3 separate regions of the Homo sapiens genome follow, and all the other regions are linked to region 3. Evidence: promoter capture Hi-C in human tissues and cell types (Jung and others, 2019). All regions are on one chromosome and are shown on one strand. The core of a region is centred on a gene start or on the middle of the fragment in contact, and the rest is flanking DNA. Distances in the headings are between cores, read along the strand shown.

Region 1 (4,021 bases), core at 1,165-3,664, 1.1 Mb before region 3:
TAATTTCTAGTTTTCCTGGAAGAGGGAAAAAGCAAAATTCAACACAACAGTAAATGCAACCAAAATAAACAGGGAACAAATTCTGAATTTTCACTTGCAGCAAATAAGTGTAATTTTGGGGTGTGAGATGGAAACCTTTTCAATGTAATGGTTTGTGTAACAGCTTTTACAAGGTGCACTTTTCACTGTCAAACAGCATGAAATGCTCGTAAGGGTAATCAGTTTTAGATGGCAGGTTTACAAGCTTTCCACAACATGTACTATTTATCTACGCTAAAATGTTTTCCAATTACCTCTTTACATATTATGTTCATGCATTCTTTTAAAAAGATTTAAAAACTGCTTTGTACAAATGTAACTCTGAAACCAACCACGCCGCTTGATTTCTTTAATCATCTGATGCATACTATTGGTTTTTACTAGCTCATAAGTTACCCATGCCTAATTTACATAAAAGCAGTATTTCTGTAATATATTAAAGCAAGGTAGAAGCAAACACCTCCCAGTATAACTGACTCAAAAATGGTATTTTCTATGTAATCTTGCTTATGAAGGAAATGATATTCTTGTTGTACCATAAGAGTTAGCTAATATTTACATATTATATTCAAAATTACACACAAATATGAGCTGATTACTTCTCATGATCCATGGAGCCACTTTTCTCACAAACCAAATTTATAAGGACGGTGTTTTCTAAATAAAACGGAAAGGTTATTTGCATATGAAAATTATATTCCCTTTCCTTATAAGGTTTACTCAACAATGAATACATAAATTCTTTTTCAATTAAGACAGCAATGGAATTTTTTTAAATGTAGGAGAGCAACCCAGTCCATCTTCCTCGCTCTGTGTCTTTCTTTCCCCCTTTCTCCCTTGCTCCTTTCTCTCCTCTTTTTTATTTATTTATTTATTTTTTGAGACAGGGTCTCATTCTGTTGCCAAGGCTGAAGTGCAGTGGCATGATCTCGGCTCACTGCAACCTCCACCTCCCAGGTTCAAGGAATTCTCCCAAGTAGCTGGGATTACAGGCACCCGCCACCAGACTGGCTAATTTTTGTATTTTTAGTAGAGACAGGGTTTCAGCCCGGGAAGCCTCCGCCTCCTGGGTTCAAGTGATCCTCCCACCCCAGCCTCCCGAGTAGCTGGGATTATAGGTGTGTGACACCACATCCAGCTAATTTTTGTGTGTGTGTGTTTTTTTTTTTTAGTAGAGAGGGGATTTCACCATGTTGGCCAGGCTGGTCTAGAACTCTGGACCTAAAGTGATCCTCCTGCCTCGGCCTCCCAAAGTGCTGGGATTACAGGTGTGAGCCACTGCGCAGGCCTCTTGTTCCCTTCTCTACCTTTCCTCCACCTCCAATTATACGGACCTAGTCAGCCCCATAGTCAAACACTGGCTACACAACAGCCCCTCCAAAATACTCTACATATATAAGCTGAGTCAGGAGTGCAGCTTAATTGTATCATTTTCTTCTTTGAAATTATTTTCACACATCTGGACAACTACTCGTAACATTATCCATAGGATCTTATATTCACACCATTTTAAACATTATGGGCATCAAAAATAACAGCTAAGCTATTTTCAGTACTTAGACGTAAGCCACATGGCCAAAATATTCAGTGTCTCAAAACAAAGCTTACTGTGAAATCAGATCAGTATCTGATTTGAGTATTCCTGGCTTGTACTTTCCAAAGTACAGTAGAACTACTTCATAATAAGACCACTAAAGGTCAACACTAATCATGTTGTATTACTTTACTTTATCTATGTTCAGAGAAATGTAAGCTCACAGACTCTAAGGTTGGACAGGCCATCAAGGTGACCTTGAGTCATGGTTAGTGCCATGATCTGTTTGAATATCCATAATGAAGCTCTACCACACCATTTTATAAGGAATGTTATGAATTATAGAATTGAGCTCTTAAGTTGACTCAAAGATAATGCTATTTTCGTTTCAAGTAAATAAATAGTAATTATCTATAGAGAAGTAAAAGAAAGGCTTCAAACCATTTAATAAAGATATATTAATTCATTTAGTTATTTTTTTCTTCTTGAGAGGGCTCTAAACAAAAATATCATCTTCCTAAGGTAAATATGTTAGTAAAAGTTTATAAAAGAAAGGTGCAAAGGGTGAAGCTGGCATTTCCTGAAGCTTAGGGTAGTTTCAGGAGATGCAACATGGTTGCAGTAAAAGCTATCACCTGGCTTAAAATAATAGGATTCTGTCCACTTTTTAAGCATACCAATTCTGTTACAGTTATTCTTAGAAAGAAAGGGAAACTTATAACTAGCTTTGAATGACCAGAAAAAAACTGCAAATTTCTTACTTTTAAAAATTATTGATGCTGGCAATTCTACTGGTAAATTCATGTTTCTTCCAAATTGAATATTAATAAAGCTACCACCAATGTTGAAAACCTGTTTATTATTTAATGTGAGCTGAATAAAAATCAATAACTATAGAGAACAGGGTTACTTCAGAAAATAAGATTCTAATATGTTTTATATTGAGTCTAAAAATCACACTTCTTTAATTGGTTAAAGCACAGCCTTTAATATAGAAAATTTTCTCAATTTAACAGGAAAAACCAAAAAACCTCTCTCCTTGAGAAATAAACAGAAATTTTTACAAAATTGTCATTTTATAGCAAGATCGATTTTTTTTTTTCAGTTACAACCTATTCTCCTAAGGATACTAGTCCCAGCTTTTAATCCAAATTTCCCAAATAGAAACATCAGCATCTTCCTAAGAAAATATTAAAATACTTGTTAAAGCATACTGTAATGTATACCAAGTAGAACTCTTTCAGTGCATTCAATTTACTTGATAAATTGTTTTATGAAATACTATAAGACTTAATAAACAATTCATAATTTAGGTAATTTATGTTCCTTCTCAAGGATATACAATCAAACTATTTTCATATGGGAGTTTAATATTTTAGGAACATCATACTATAGCTTATGATTTGTTTAAGTTGCTAAGAAGTGAACACTTTTATTTTATTTTTAAATGGCCCACCTTTAGTATTTAGATTATGCTCTTTTCATGTTTCAGTTTAACTTAACAAGACAATACAAAAACCTCAATAAAGAAAAATATCTAAAACTACTGCAGATCCTAGACACAGTTTCTTTAAAGAATTCATCCCTGTTTCTTTCTCCTTGCTCTGAAGACAAGGAACAAATGCTTCCTGAATGTGAAATTCACCCTAACAGTTCATTGCTTTAACACCTTTTGAGTAGAGACAGTTGGAGCAAATATAAGCTAAGTTCTGCAGTGTAGCAGTTCTCTTGACAACTCTTAGTAAGGCTGCAAGTGAAAAACCCTTTATGCTTTTTTGAATAATATCCCAGTGTGGGAGGATGAATACTAAGTAATAAATCAGGAAAAGAAAAAAATTATACTCTCCACCTAGATAACATGAAGAATGGTAAGGCTAGTGTTTGGTACTTAGAAATTCTCCCAATAAATCAAGATTGTCTTCTTTCATCTTTACCTCCTCTGTTACATCCAATTAAAAATTTTAAAAGCTGCTATTTATTGAACACCTACCACATATCTGCTAATAAACTTAATACTTTAATTTTCACAACAACCTTGTGTGAAAATTATGTGTGTGTTGGTTGAGTACTTTATTGAAATGGGACACTGAGTTCCAGAAAGATCAAATACTTTTCCTAAGAGCTCAACATTGGCAAAAGACAAAACTAGGACACACATGGAACTACATCTGACTGTAAAGGCTATGCTCCTGCCATATTCCAGTCTGCTTACAATACTTTTAATGTTTTCTGTATTTCCAAGTTAAAAGAAACAAAATTTGTGTTCCATATTTGAAATATTCAACAGTTATGAGAATGTCAATCTTAAGAGTAAAGTCATTATCTTGCAAAATCAGTGAGAAATTAAAAACACAATAGAGTTAGCTTTCATTATTCATACTAGTTGAAAGATCCAAAGACATATTTGCTGTCCTACCAAAAGGGCACACTGCAGTAAATACCACTAAC
Region 2 (3,912 bases), core at 1,188-3,687, 1.0 Mb before region 3:
ATTAATGTTGCACAGCAGTATTATGATCCAACTACTGCAGTAACGAGATGATCCAGAGTTGACTTAGACAGGCTATTCAGGCCCTTTCCTTTTGTGAGATTAGCAATGTGGTTAAAAATATAGTAATAATTAAAACACTCATTAAAAAATAGCTCAATCAAAACTCCATCTAGAATGTTGCTGAGGAGCAACAGTTTCGATTCAGCATGCCAGAGTCTGGATCGACTTATATATCCCTTAAGAATCTCAATGGTAGGCAAACACTTCACCTGTGGAATTATCTCCACACATAATTGGATTTCCCAAATCAAAGTAGGCACTATAAGCCAGGGCAAAAGCTGCAGTCTTAGGCTAGAGAAGAAGATTTCCATCTGTTTTCTACTTCAAGTATTAGCTGCTACAGAGTTTCCCCTTTGGTGTCATAATAACAGGCACATATTTTTCATATGAACTACTGGGTTCTCTTATTTCTCCACAATACTGAACTGAGAGATCTGAAAATCACTAAAAACATATTTCTAACTCTGGGGTCTAGCCAAGAAGACTACCTACAGACTAACAAAAGTCTAAAACATGCGTACTGAATTAGGGGTTATAAAGATAAATGGATCCAAGAAATATATAAGCCTACATAGAATAATACACATGAGAAGCTCTCTTGATCAAGCTTCACTTACCCAGCTTGCTATGTAAACCCACATTGTTCATTTCCTCTTTAACCATACTGACAGATGCCCACAGAATACTGAAAACTCACAGCCTGCAGGAGTCTCTCTAGCATGCCCCTCAACACTTCTGCTCCCAACTGCTGAGCTGTATATTCACTCAGAACAATATTTGTTCCAAAACCTCAACAGGGGAGTTTTATTGTTATTGTAATTAGCTAATTTAATTAAATATCACATAAACCATAAAAGCAAAAATAAAAGGTCTTGTATCTTTAAAAACTAAGTCAAACGCATTGAAAAGACTTGATAAAGGCAAGTCACTGCAAAATACTGCTGTTGAAATAGGCAAAGATAAGAGAAATATTTTTAAACCTGGGAAAAATAATAAAATATAGAATATAATGTTTCTGAAAATGTAGCATGGAAGCCAAGCATAGAATACTGAGCCCCACCTTCCATAGTTTCTGATTCAGTAGGTCTGGAGTAAAACCAAAGAATTTGCATGCTATGAAATTCCCATGATGCTGAGGCTGCTGGGCTGGGAACCACACTTTGAGAACCACTGCTCTGCAAGTGTCTCAATTTTTTAATCTATATTAAAGAAATAAAGCATAAACTGGATATGACTTGTTATAGATGTAGATTTATATAAGACTTGCAGTTCCAATCAGCAAGCCTATATTGAAAAAAAGGCCCTTGGTCCTAGTCACAAAAACAGTCTATTTATACATTTTGCACATTTCAAGTTAAAATGTTAGTGAGAAGTATGCAGCACTTTTTATGACCTACTGTTTTAACTTTTTCTATTAACAGTCAAACTACAAGAACCAATCTCATCAGAAAAGATCCCTTGTCAAATACAGACTATGAAAGTACCACTGAAGTTTCAAAGTTCCTTTACCTACACCATTTGCAAGAAGGAAATTCCGTGATTGTCTCATTGGTTATAAGACTTCCCCGAAACACAAACTCATAGAAGCTCATAATATCAATGACGCTTTTAAAATTAAAGTTAAAAGGTTTAGTATCACTGTCTCCAATTTATAGATGAGATTACTGACTCAGAAGAAACATATCTAAAAGTAAGTCAGCCAACAAGTGGCAGCCAAGACTCTGAATACAGATTTGTCTCCAGAAACAGTGCTTATTTGCCCAAACCACAAAATATTGCAGTATAATCTTTAAAAGAATCAAAGACAGGTTTGCAACAATACACCATTAGAACCCTAATCAATCTAAATGTCTGTGAAACAGAAAATGACCAAACTAGCAGCCAGGTATGGTGGCTCATGCCTGTAATCTCCGCACTTTGGGAGGCCAAGGAAGGAGAATCACTTGAGGCAACCAAGAGTTGAAGACCAGCCTGGGCAACACAGGAAGATCCCATCTCCACAAAAAGTAAAAAATTAGCTGGGTGTGGTGACACATGCCTATAGTCCTAGCTACTCGGGAGGCTGAGGCAGGAAGATTGCTTGAGCCCAGGTGATCTAGGCTGCAGTGAGCTATAATTGTGCCACTGCACTAACAGCCTGGGCAACAGAGCAAGACCCTGTCTCCAAAAAAAAAAAAAGAAAGAAAAAGAAAAAGGAAGGAAGGAAGGAAGGTAGGTTGCCAACTATAAACAGTTATAAATGGATGCTTATAAGCATTATATCTTCATCTTGAACACTGTAGGGTCCAGCCCCACAGGGTCAGTGGGTTTTTCTCCCCGTGTGCAGAGACGAGAGATTGTAGAAATAAAGACACAAGACAAAGAGATAAAAGAAAAGACAGCTGGGCCCGGGGGACCGCAACCACCAAGACGCAGAGACCGGTAGTGGCCCCGAATGCCAGGCTGTGCTGTTATTTATTGGAAACAAGGCAAAAGGGGAAGGGTAAGGAGTGTGAGTCATCTCCAATGATTGACAAGGTCACATGAGTCACATGTCCACTAGACAGGGGGCCCTTCCCTGCCTGGCAGCCAAGGCAGACAGAGAGAGAGGGAGAGAGAGAGGACAGCTTATGCTACTATTTCTGCATATCGCATATACAGCGTATGCAATAGCATACGCTATTATTTCTGCATAATATTACAATATTGTTTCTGCATATCAGAGACTTTTAGTACTTTCACTAATTTTGCTACTGCTGCCTAAAAGGCAGAGCCAGGTGTACAGGATGGAACATGAAAGTGGACTAGGAGGGTGACCACTGAAGCACAGCATCACAGGGAGACAGTCAGGCCTCCAGATAACTGTGGGCAGGCTTGACTGATGTCAGGCCCTCCACAAGAGGTGGAGTAGAGTGTCTTCTCTAAACTCCCCTGGGGAAAGGGAGACTCCCCTTCCCAGTCTGCTAAGTAGTAGGTGTTTTCCCTTCGCACTGACGCTACCACTAGACCACAGTCTGCTTGGCAACAGGCATCTTCCCAGACGCTGGCGTTACCGCTAGACCAAGGAGCTCTCTGGTGGCCCTGTCCAGGCATGACAGACGGCTCACACTCTTGTCTTCTGGTCACTTCTCACTATGTCCCCTCAGCTCCTATCTCTGTATGGCCTAGTTTTTCCTAGGTTATGATTATAGAGCGAGTATTATTATAATATTGGCATAAAGAGTAATTGCTACAAATGATTAATGATACTCATATATAATATATATAATATATACATATAATTCATATGATATTCATATATAATCATGTCTATGTAGATCTAGTATAACTCTTGTTGTTTTATGTTCTTTATTACACTGGAACAACTCGTGCCCCTGGTCTCTTGCCTCGGCATCTGGATGGCTTGCTGCCCACAGAATATAATCATAAACATCATCTATAAGCTGAACTTATTAAGTGCCAAGAGAGGATCATCAAATATAGGGCACTGGAAGGTAGCTAGTTTATCAGCATTGATGCAAAGTTTAGTATTTATGGACTGCTTGAAAACAGGGGAAGAGATGAAGTAGCTCAGTGACAGCAATCACCATTAAGATGATGCCATTAAACCAAGTCAATTTTAGAAACTAGAGGCACAGACAAACAGCACCTTATCTCTGCCTTATAAGGTAGTGATGCATTCATGTTGTATTATAAATTCCAGAAGAGAACCATATCTGTAAAACTATGAAGGAATCCATCTTTTATGTATCATAAGCCCATCAATACAACTTTATAAGAATTGCTTTATTCAGTTGTGTTTTAAATAACTGGAGAAAAAAATGTTACAAACAAAAACGCATTTATTGGAATTGACAGGAAGAGGGAAGTTTT
Region 3 (3,950 bases), core at 1,119-3,618:
GTCTGTTTGTTGGTTGGTTGGTCGGTTTAGTTTTTGTAGAGACAGTGGTCTAATTATGTTGTCCAGGCTGGTCCTAAACTCCTGGGCTTAAGCAGTCCTACCATCTCGGCTTCCCAAAGTGCTGGGATTACGGGTGTGAGCCACTGCACCTGGCCAATATGTTTATTTTACACACATGTGATCAAATTGTACATGCAATTTTAGTATTTCTTTCTTCCCTTTATATTTATAAATATAGATTTATAACATGTGCCATCCCATGCTGTTAAAAACTTCATAAACTTCCTTTATGTAGGCTGCATAAGGTACTGTTGCTTGGCAGTTCCATAATATATTTACCATTCCATTTATGTTGGACATTTGCGTTTTTTCCAGCTGTTTTTTTACTGTGGGACAAATCTGTTCTCTCGCGCACGCTCTCTCTCTTTTTTTTTTATGAGACAGGGTTTCCCTCCGGTCGCCCAGGCAGGAGTGCTGCAGCGTGATCTCGGCTCACCGCAACCTCCACCTCCTGGGTTCAAGTGATTCTCCTGTCTCAGCCTCCCGAATAGCTGGGATTACAGGTGCATGGCCCTAAACCCGGCTAATTTTTGTATTTTTGGTAGACGGGATTTCCCCATGTTGGCCAGGCTGGTCTCGAACTCTTGACCTCAAGTGATCCGCCTGCCTTGGCCTCCCAAATTGCTGGAATTACAGGTGTGAGCCATCGCGCCCGGGACTATTCTCCCTTTCTTGATAGTTTCCCTTCTGACATTTCCTTCCTTCTTTCTTTCTTTTTTCTTTTTTTTTGACAGTCTCGCTCTGTCGCCTAGGCTGGAGCGCAGTGGCTTGATCTCAGCTTACTGCAATCTCCACCTTCCAGGTTCAAGCGATTCTCCTCCCTCAGCCTCCCAAGTAGCTGCGACTACAGGCACGTGCCACCACGCCCGGCTAATTTTTTTGTATTTTTAGCAGAGACGGGGTTTCACTGTGTTAGCCAGGATGGTCTCAATCTCCTGACCTCGTGATCCGCTCGCCTCGGACTCCCAAAGTCCTGAGATTACAGGCAAGAGCCACCGCACCCGGGTCCCCTTCTGACATTTCTTCAGATCTTCCTCGGACACCCAACGACCTTAAAATCCCTCTAACCTTCTTTCTCTCAAAGTTTACTTTCTATAAAGAGCTGATAAACTCATTCATACTAAAGTCTACAGGGTTGTAAATCTTAATCTATTATCGCTTAAAAGATGCTTGTATCAATTTACACCAAAGGGATGAAGCTCTAATTGTGGGGATTTAGTCATCAGAAAATCTAGTAGGGGAAATTCTCCCTACCCACAATCAGAGTAGATTCTACAATAGCAAAAAGGGTTCCAGGCTCACTTAACTTTAGGAACGCTGATAAGAAGACCGCTTACAGCTGCGGAGGTACTGATTTGGTAAAGGGAGGGAAAGAGATTGTATACGTGAGAGTGAAAAAATTGGGTAGAAAAATGGAAGAGCATCAGAAATTCACTTAGCAACACCAAATATATTTGGCACCACTAACCTAGTTTCTCCTGTGTTTGCCTTTCCAATCCGTTGGACCTTAGGGGATGGACCGCCCACTTTCTCCCCAGAGCGGCTCCCGGGTCCGGTTCTCAGTTCTAATCACTGCCCCAAGCCTCCATGCTCCAGGGCCTGTGGTCACAGAGCAAGTCCCAAGGAGCAGAAGTAAAGTTCTAAGAGAAATCACCATCTCCTTGTGCAGGGAACACTCCCAAGCCCAGTGTCCACAGACAAATCACCTCCAGCGACTCGAAGAGGAGAATAATCCCTGTGGGGGCACTGGAGGCTCCGCGTGAAAGTTTCCAAAGCCATGTTCTGCCCCAGGACTCCTTTCTCTCCTCCCAGAAGCTTCAGGCTTTCGCGGCTGCTGGCACATCCCAGCCTGAGTAGCCGAGCAAGAGGGACCCAAGGCAGGATCAGCTTCCCCCGACTTGAAAGGGCACCCGTTCTGCAGGTGCCGGCGCTGGAAATAGCTGGTGTGGAGAACGGAGAGGGAGACGTGCAGGATGAAGTCCGCGCCCAGGAGGGCAGTGGCTCCGCCTCTCTGGGTTAGGGACAGAAGAAAACCCTTAACCCAAAGCCCTAGCATGAGTGAGGCGTGGAAAGCGAGACAGACTCCAGTGGAAGGCTGTGGGGCGGGACTCAGGGTTCCCGGAGAGGCCGCCCCAGCTCCTGCCGCAGCGCTGGGCGCCCTACCACGCCTGCTCCCTAGGGACCCCGGGCGTCCCACGCACGCACCCACCCTCCTTCCCGGGCCTGCCGCTCCTCCCTCCTTCCTCGCTGGTTGGCCCAGGCGCCGCAGAGCGCGGCGGCAGCAGGAGGAGCCGGGCGCGCCTGCCACGCAAAACTACCGGGCTGGCAGGGCGGCGGGCGCGGTGCGCGATCCCGGGTGGCGGCGGCAACGGCGGTGGTGACGGCGGCGACTGCAGCGGCCGGCTCTCACCTCTCCCCTGTGCACCCGCATCTCGCCGCGCCGCCGAGCAGCCAGCAGTCCCCGGGTCGCCCAGCCCACGCGCGCACGGCCGAGCCCAGCGCACAATAGCGGCGACAGCCATGGGGAAACCGGCGAGGAAAGGATGCGAGTGGAAGCGCTTCCTGAAGAATAACTGGGTGTTGCTGTCCACCGTGGCCGCGGTGGTGCTAGGTGAGCGGCGCGGCGGGTGGGCGATGCGCGCACCCTCACGCGCTCTCTGCGCCCAGGCCGCGTGCGGCTGAGGGTGGGCTTGGCGCTGGCGCACTCCATGCAGGGTCCCTCGATGCCCCCTCGGCCTTAGCCTCGGGCCCCCTGCGGGGGCTTTCCCCCAAGCGCTCTAATTACTGCACACCAAGAACAAAGCTCCTCTGGGACTCCCATTTGAGTGCTCCTTGAGCTGCTGGTTCCTGCTCTACCCAAAATGATCAAAGGGGCTTGGGGGTAGAAAGGGAAGCAAGTAGCTCTTGGTTCTGCTCGTTTGAAAACAGGGTTCGATTTTTTTCTTTGTTAATCCCGCACCGTATCTCCCCCTATCACCGCCACCTTCCTCACCCCACACCCCCAGCCTCGCTGCGCGGGCAGAGATTGAGTGTGGATTACAGTTCTCAGTCGAATTGGAAGAGGCACCCTGGCCTCCGGGATGGGCCGGACCCTTAGGGGAGGGAGGCTGAGAACGCTGTCGCCGCTCATCCTGGGCAGTGCGTGGAAAGGTGCCTTCCCACGCGGCGAGCGCCGACTGCCTGCACCCGGGCTCTGAAAAGCTGCCAGATTCGTGCCTGAATTCTGGGATGTGCCACTGTGGCCCGCGGGAGGTCACCGGGGAAGAGAGCTAAGAGAACTCAGCCGTCTCTTCTCCTGCCTTCCTTGCTCTCCACGTTGTTTTTGTATTTAAGATAATGTTTAAGCCATCCTTGCCTGTTTTTAAACAAGGGTGTATTTAAGTGATCCACCCCTCACAGATCACTGGACCAGGTGGATGTCTGAGCCATTGCTCAGAGGTATGAGTTATTCCTATTTAGATTCTGATTTTTTACCAAGGTTGTGTGTTTCTAGCTCCGGCCCGGGGATGCACTTCCTTGGGATTAGCGCCATATCTGTCGCCTTCCCAGTGATAGCTCCTCAGCAGGTGAGGGCTGTTGCACCCTCTGAGGAATGTGGATTCCTCGGCAGGCTCCACCTTCCCCTTGGAAACTGCAGCTGTGTTTGCTGAAAAGGCAAGTGGGGACAGCTTGTTTCCTCCCAACCTCAGGTACCTTCCTCTCCAACTGCTGCTCCTAAATCTCAGAATATATGGTGTTGCTTGCTTCTCCTCCGAACCGCCCCCTCCCCTCAGGGTGGGGATAGGGCATGGAAATGGCCTTTGGAAGTTAATGGGATTCTTGGGGTCAGATTGGATTCTCCAGAACCTTGGGGAAAGGAAAGTCAGGTTTCTAGTAAATAAATAACATCC

What was found. The method cuts DNA at HindIII sites, captures the fragments that hold promoters and counts their contacts. A contact is called where the count stands out against the background at its distance.
Region 1: a fragment that was not itself captured here is called in contact with the fragment with the promoter of SLC1A1 in region 3 in 1 of the 25 tissues and cell types used here (dorsolateral prefrontal cortex).
Region 2: a contact is called between a fragment that was not itself captured here and the fragment with the promoter of SLC1A1 in region 3, in 1 of the 25 tissues and cell types used here (lymphoblastoid cells).

What each region holds. Positions count from the first base shown.
Region 1 is chr9:3,410,462-3,414,482 of GRCh38, forward strand. The region is part of intron 1 of RFX3 (regulatory factor X3); the gene reads right to left. Among named protein-coding and RNA genes, the nearest start is that of RFX3, 110 kb to the right of the region's middle. The HindIII fragment of the contact is 5,241 bases long and covers 1-4,021 here.
Region 2 is chr9:3,472,876-3,476,787 of GRCh38, forward strand. The region is part of intron 1 of RFX3 (regulatory factor X3); the gene reads right to left. Among named protein-coding and RNA genes, the nearest start is that of RFX3, 51 kb to the right of the region's middle. RefSeq lists an enhancer at 2,727-2,876. The HindIII fragment of the contact is 4,823 bases long and covers 27-3,912 here.
Region 3 is chr9:4,488,100-4,492,049 of GRCh38, forward strand. SLC1A1 (solute carrier family 1 member 1) reads left to right here and starts at 2,369. Exons shown (of 12, transcript NM_004170.6): 1 at 2,369-2,671. The coding sequence starts at 2,581. It also overlaps a transcript of GLIS3 not described here. RefSeq lists an enhancer at 1,967-2,016 and a silencer at 2,167-2,596. The HindIII fragment of the contact is 11,033 bases long and covers 1-3,950 here.